2 separate regions of the Homo sapiens genome follow, and region 2 is linked to region 1. Evidence: promoter capture Hi-C in human tissues and cell types (Jung and others, 2019). All regions are on one chromosome and are shown on one strand. Each heading gives the region's core, a stretch centred on a gene start or on the middle of the fragment in contact. The rest is flanking DNA. Distances are from core to core; before and after follow the strand shown.

Region 1 (3,712 bases), core at 369-2,868:
AGCCCCTGGGCACTTTGCCCCAGGCTGTCATGGCTGCCCAGGCACCTGGAGTCATCACAGGTGAGTCTTAAGTGGTACCAGATCCTCTCCTCTCCTGTCCTGGCATCTCTCGGCTCGCTGCCCTCAGCTGCCTGGCCCTGGTGGTCTGGGCACAACCCTCTGAGCCCAGGGCAGGCCAGCTCTGTGCCTTTCTGGGAAGGGGGGTGGTAGGGAGTGACTGATGGACCTGGTTGGTTTTCCTGCAGGTGTGACCCCAGCCCGTCCTCCTATCCCGGTCACCATCCCCTCGGTGGGAGTGGTGAACCCCATCCTGGCCAGCCCTCCAACGCTGGGTCTCCTGGAGCCCAAGAAGGAGAAGGAAGAAGAGGAGCTGTTTCCCGAGTCAGAGCGGCCAGAGATGCTGAGCGAGCAGGAGCACATGAGCATCTCGGGCAGTAGCGCCCGACACATGGTGATGCAGAAGCTGCTCCGCAAGCAGGAGGTAGGCAGAGGGGCAGGGTGGTGGCGGGGGAGAGGGTAGGGGGGCGGGGCCGCAGTGCTCAGCTGTCTTCCCCTCGGCCCTGCCCCACAGTCTACAGTGATGGTTCTGCGCAACATGGTGGACCCCAAGGACATCGATGATGACCTGGAAGGGGAGGTGACAGAGGAGTGTGGCAAGTTCGGGGCCGTGAACCGCGTCATCATCTACCAAGAGAAACAAGGCGAGGAGGAGGATGCAGAAATCATTGTCAAGATCTTTGTGGAGTTTTCCATAGCCTCTGAGACTCATAAGGCCATCCAGGCCCTCAATGGCCGCTGGTTTGCTGGCCGCAAGGTGGTGGCTGAAGTGTACGACCAGGAGCGTTTTGATAACAGTGACCTCTCTGCGTGACAGTGGTCCCTCTCCCCGGACTTGCACTTGTTCCTTGTTTCCTCTGGGTTTTATAGTGATACAGTGGTGTCCCCGGGGCCAGGCGCGCTCTGCCCAGCCCAGCCTACAGTGCGGATAAAGGTGCGGATGCTGCTGGCCCTGAACGTCCGTGTGTCTGCCGTCGGTCCTGTCACCGATCCTGGGCGTGTGTCCTTAGGGGGTCTAGGGCGAGGAGGCAGGGTTGGGGGGGTCTCTGGACCTGCTTCCTGTTGGCAGGAGGGGCCTGCCGTGGGCGAGACCTGGGCAGGGGGTTGGCGCCCCGGGCCCCGTCCCGCGGGTGGCGGCGGCTGGGTGGGCGGGGCTGCCTGGGGCGCCAGGCTCTCGCGCGCGGGCTCGCAGCCGTCCCCGCAGGGTGGTGCTGAGAGAAGGCTGGGCACCGGGACACCGCGACCCGCTGGACAGCGCGCGCTGCCAGTGCTTTTGTGCCGCAGAGCCGGCCGTCCAAGGCGGGCGGGCGGGCATGGTCGCTTCCCGGGAGGAGGCTGTGCGTTAAGATTCGTGGCCAAATGCCGCGGGGCCAGGGGCCGGGCTGAAGACCGGAGGGCGGAGGGCGCCGCCTCTCGTGGATTGTAGCTCCCAATATCCCGCGCGCGGGGCGGGCCCGGCTTCCCGGCACGCTTTGCGCGGTGCCGCTACGGGTCCTCAGAGGCGGCGGCGCGCGGGGCCTTCTGGGGGCCGCAGTCCGGGCGTGCTAGGCGGCGAGGGCCGGACTCGGCTTCCCGACGGGCTGCGCGGCGGCCGGGTGGGTGTCGGCGGGGCAGTCCGGCGGGCAGCGGCGGTTCCGGTGCGGCACAGCGGGCGGACGAGCGGGCGGGACGAGCTGAGCAGGACCAAGCGGGATGCGGAGCCGCCGCCGCCGCCGCTCCCCGCGCTTCCTAAGAGTCTGAGACCCGCCGGGCCGCGCCCCCTGCCCAGGCCCGCAGTCCGAGCGTTCCGAGCGCGGGCCGGGCCCAGCGCCGGCCGCGGCCGCGTCCCCGTCCAGTCTCGGGCGGCCCGCCCCCTGCCTGCGCCCCCTCCCCATGCGCGGCGCCCATGCGGACTGAGCCCCGCCCCCCGGCCCCGAGCCCGCCGAGCGCCGCCGCCGGAGCCCGCGCCGCCCACCCGCACCATGCTCAAGTGCATCCCGCTGTGGCGCTGCAACCGGCACGTGGAGTCGGTGGACAAGCGGCACTGTTCGCTGCAGGCCGTGCCGGAGGAGATCTACCGCTACAGCCGCAGCCTGGAGGAGCTGCTGCTCGACGCCAACCAGCTGCGCGAGCTGCCCAAGGTGAGCGGCCGCCCGCACCTGCCGCCCAAAGGCGCGCCCCCAGCCCGTGATTCCTCCGGCGGCAGAATCTGCCCGGGCGAGTCACCGCAGCCTCCAGCCGGCCCTGCTGGTTTGCACTGGCCAGGTCCCCACCCCAGCCAGCCCCACCCTTCTCTTCCAGCCGCCCTGGCTGGCGCAGGTGGCAGCGGTCATCAGGTGCTTGCCTGGGGATAGCGATTGTCACCGAGCCTGGAGGCGGAGCCTCAGAGTGAAACCCGTGGGGATTCAGGGAGGTGGATGGGGTTAGGGTGGAACTTGGATTCAGGTGGCTGATGAGTACTAGCTTCTTGGGCCGCTCTGGAGGTGGGTCCAGACCTCCTCTCCTTTTTTGCTGGGTGCAGGGGTGAGTGGGGGAGCCCTCTTGATGTACTCTTTGCTCTCGGATCTGTTCGCTGTCCCCCTTTCTTTACCCTTGCTTCTCGTGGTCAGGTGCTCTCCTAAGGCTGCTACAAGAAAGGAGGCTGGAGAAAGCAGATTAAAAAGTATTTCTTTTCTGGAGATGGGGTGCTGGGTGATCAGTACCTAGGGGTTGGGTGTCCCAAAGAATGTGACCCTGTTCTGGCCGTGGCAGTGACAGCTCGGTCCTCTGTGGCCACCTGCAGGCCTCGCGCGTAGCACTGTGCCTGTGGTACTGTGTTATTGTGGGGAGCGTTTACTGAGTTCTTGCTGCAGAACCAGGCCAGGCTTGTTGTCAGGATGCAGTAGCAGAGGCCAGTGTGGGCCCCTGGAGGGTGGCAGAAGTGGTTCAGGGGCTGGGTGGGCCCTGAGGTAAGACACAGGGTAGGGGATTGGGGCTTTGTCTGGTCGCCAGCAGGTGTCTTCTCAGAGTGGAGGCTGGTGTGAAGAGTAGAGGGAGGCAGCCACAGTGGGCGTGTGTACCGTGTGTTTCTTTCCTTTTTTTGCAAATGGGGTGTCGTGGTTAGACCCCAGGACCCGGTGTGACCTGGAGCAGACAGAGGCCTAGGGACTCTTGACTTGTGACACTCACGTGTCCAGGAGCTCTTCTCTGCTCTGCAGTGGTCTCTGCCACAGAGTCCGTGTCCTCCCTGCCCACAGCCTTTTTTCCGGCTGCTGAACTTGCGCAAGCTGGGCCTGAGCGACAACGAGATCCAGCGGTTGCCTCCCGAGGTGGCCAACTTCATGCAGCTGGTGGAGCTGGACGTGTCCCGGAACGGTGGGGAGCCTGGGCAGGGGCTGGGTGGGGTCTGGGGAGTGTCCGCTGGGGCTGCAGACGGCCTGCAGGCCATGGCATCTGTCCACTGTGACCCTCTGTGACAGATATCCCTGAGATCCCGGAGAGCATCAAGTTCTGCAAGGCTCTGGAGATCGCGGACTTCAGCGGGAACCCCCTCTCCAGGTGGGTGGCAGCCTGTGGTGGGGTCGGTAGGGGCTATGGGTCCCACAGCCCTGGACTGGTCATCCGAGGGCCTCTGCTTCCTCCCATCCAGGCTCCCTGATGGCTTCACTCAGCTGCGCAGCCTGGCTCACCTGGCCCT
Region 2 (3,241 bases), core at 417-2,916, 160 kb after region 1:
CTACAAAAAAATATAAAAAATTAGCAAGATGTGGTGATGCATGCCTACAGTCCCAACTACTTGGGAGGCTAAGGAAAGAGGCTCACTTGAGCCCGGATGTTCGAGGTTACATTAGCTGTGATTGTGCCACTACGCTCCAGCCTGGGCAACAGAATGAGATTTCTGCCTCAAATAAAACTACAGTAATCAATATAGTGTCATATTGGTGTAAAGTTATACACACAAGAAGAATGGTGTCCAGAACAGACCACTTCTATGTCACTTCAGTTTTTACAAACCTGTGAAGACTTGGTCATTGGGAAAGTAGAGTCTCAACAAATAGAACCGAACCAACCAACCACACAGATAAAAAAGTGAATCTTGACCCTTATCACATATGGTACACAAAAATGAACTCAAAATGGATCACAGACTTAAATGTAAAAGGTAAAACTATAAAAGTTCCATAAAAATAAAAAACATAGGAAAAAATCATGTCCTTTGAGTAGGCAAATTTCTTAAACTCAAATTATTATAAAATATCATAAATCATTATTATTATTATCTTGGTTTACTGCAACCTCTGCCTCCTGGGTTCAAGTGATTCTCCTGCCTCAGCCTCCCGAGTAGCAGGGACTACAGGGGTGTGCCACCCGCCCAGATAATTTTTGTATTTTTAGTAGAGACGGGGTTTCACCACGTTGGCCAGGCTGGTCTCAAACTTCTGGCCTCAGGTGATCTGCCTACCTTGGCCTCCCAAAGTGCTGGGATTACAGACATGAGCCACCACACCCAAATCTTTGATAAATTAGGCTTAATAAAAAATATTCAAAAGACACCATTAAGAAAATGAACAGGCAAACCAAACATGAAAATATTCACAATATTTGTCACAAATGGAGACAAAGAATTCTATATATTACATGTATGTTTTTCATGCAGAATATGGAAAGAACTTGAGTCAACAATAAGCATCCCAACTTAAAAACAGGCAAAAGGCACGAACAGACACATCACAAAAGACGACACGGAAAAGCAATAAGCAGATGAAATCATAGACATACATTATTCAGTGGGCAAATACAAATTAAAATCATAAGGAGGCTAGAGTGGATTAAATTTTAAGAGACTGACAATGCCAAGTGTTAGCAAAGATATGGAGCAACTGGAATCTTCCCATAATGTAGTAATAGTGTAAAATGATTCAACCACTACAGAGGGCTGTGTGACAATTTCTTAGGAAGTTAGAAACACGTATTGCAATGGACTGAATGTTTACATCCTTGCACAATTCATGTCAAATTCCTAACCCATAAGATGATATGAGGTGGGGTCTTGGGGAGGGGACAGAATCACAAGGGGAGAGCCCTCATGAATGGGGTAAGCTTGCTAGTCCCTTTCCACCACGTGCAGTCACAGTAAAAAGACATCTACTTAAAAGGAAGCAGGCCCTCACTAGACACCAAATGTTGACACCCTCATCTTGGACTTCCCAGCCTCCAGAACTGTAAAACATAAATTTCTGTTGTTTATAAGCCTCCCAGTTGATGGTATTTTGTTATGGCAGCCTGAATGAACTAAGACACTTACAACACAGCAATTAAAGTCCTAGGTACTTACCCAAGAGAAATAAAAACACATGTGCAAATACATACTTTTACACAAATGCTCATAGTTTTAAGAGCCGAGACTGGAAACCCATTAACACATGGATGAATAAACAAATGATGGCTTATCCACACAATGGAATACTATTCAGCAAGGAGAACTACTGAAACACAAAACAGCTTGGATGAGTCTAAAAACATGCCAAAGTGAGACATCAGACGCAAAAGAACACATAGTAAATGAATCCATTTGTATGAGGCTCTAAACCAAGCAACACTAATCTATGAGGATAGAAAGTGGTTATCTGGGGCTGGAGTGGGCTTAACTAGGAAAAGGCAAAAGGGAACTTCTTTGGGTGACAGAAACGTTTTTGGTTCTGGCGGTGGTGGTTACACAGGTGGTGGTGGTTACACAGGTGTATAGATTTTTCAAAACCTTGTACACTTAAATAGGCGTTTTACTATATGAAAATTGAATCTCAATAAAGTTGATTAAAATGGTCTGGTAAAATCTACATTTGAAACATCTCTAGTAATGCTGATTTTCCAGAAAATGTAGATCTCTTTTTTGAATTATTTGTCCTGAGACGTTCAGGGTTGGTAGTATTTAAGAACTCAAAATATGGCCTCATGAGAAAAAAATTATATCGTTACAAAACTGGACTTTGGGGTTCATGTCCAGATGAAATTCAGAGGTAAAGACTAACAGTTTGGCGAGGCGGCTGTCCACTGTCCATTTACCTCGCCTGCTTTCGAACAGTCCTAGCCAAAAAGCCATCTGTCATGGCTCCATGTTTCTGCAGATTCCTCTCCTGGACCCTATTTTCTTCTTCAGCTGCTCTCTACTGATCTCTGGCCCAGCTGAAATGTCACCTCTTCTGTAAGGCCTTCCCAGCTCTGTGCCACAGCAGGCACCCCCTCACCTGTGCTCCTTCACACCTGAGGGCACATACTTAACTCACCCTACTGTGATCTCCGTCTTCCCCACTACACGGTGGATGACTTCAGGGTAGTGGGTTGCTCATCTGTTTTCCCAACATTGAGGACTATTCCTTATAGATATCAATACATTTTGAAATGACACAATGAGCCAGAGAGCATGGAAAATGACAAGAGCTCAGTTCAACCTCAGAACTGCTACAACAGAAGAGTTACGTAGCGCATTGAGACTGTGCCTTTCGAGTGAGACAGAAAGATACAGACAAGTAAGTAAAGACCTTCTCTTGAGACCTGCCTCCTCCTGTCCCCACTGTTCCAGCTGAGCCAGGTGTCAATGCCCTCCAGATCAAGTAGACAGTTCTGCATGAGCTGTAAGGTGGCACACAGGAGGGCGTGGATGTGCACAGGATATTGCCTGCAACTTCTAAGTAGGAGCAGCAGACAGTAGCAGGGCTGAGAAGATACTTCTAACAGAATCGTAGATTATACTGATACAAAATGAACAAACAACAAAAAAAACAGCCAACAGCTGAAAATTTTTAGAATGGCAGTATAGAAAGGACAAAGCAAGAGAGATGCCAATTACACATAGATTTAGGGGTGTATTTTTTATTGCCCTGTGCTAGACAGTGGACACATGGAAATCAATCAGATATGATCACTGTCCTCAGGAACCCAACAGCATAGTGACAGAGATAGTCTATCACATCATTCTG

What was found. The method cuts DNA at HindIII sites, captures the fragments that hold promoters and counts their contacts. A contact is called where the count stands out against the background at its distance.
Region 2: a fragment that was not itself captured here is called in contact with the fragment with the promoter of SCRIB in region 1 in 1 of the 25 tissues and cell types used here (H1 embryonic stem cells).

Annotation. Positions count from the first base shown.
Region 1 is chr8:143,813,679-143,817,390 of GRCh38, reverse strand. SCRIB (scribble planar cell polarity protein) reads left to right here and starts at 1,618. Exons shown (of 37, transcript NM_182706.5): 1 at 1,618-2,177; 2 at 3,273-3,390; 3 at 3,495-3,573; 4 at 3,665-3,712. The coding sequence starts at 2,019. PUF60 (poly(U) binding splicing factor 60) reads left to right here. Exons shown (of 12, transcript NM_078480.3): 10 at 1-60; 11 at 246-481; 12 at 572-1,047. The coding sequence ends at 871. RefSeq lists enhancers at 1,026-1,658, 1,659-2,291, 2,576-3,240. The HindIII fragment of the contact is 41,605 bases long and covers 1-3,712 here.
Region 2 is chr8:143,652,254-143,655,494 of GRCh38, reverse strand. ZNF623 (zinc finger protein 623) reads right to left here. Exons shown (of 2, transcript NM_001261843.2): 2 at 1,765-3,241. Among named protein-coding and RNA genes, the nearest start is that of ZNF623, 18 kb to the right of the region's middle. The HindIII fragment of the contact is 4,456 bases long and covers 1-3,241 here.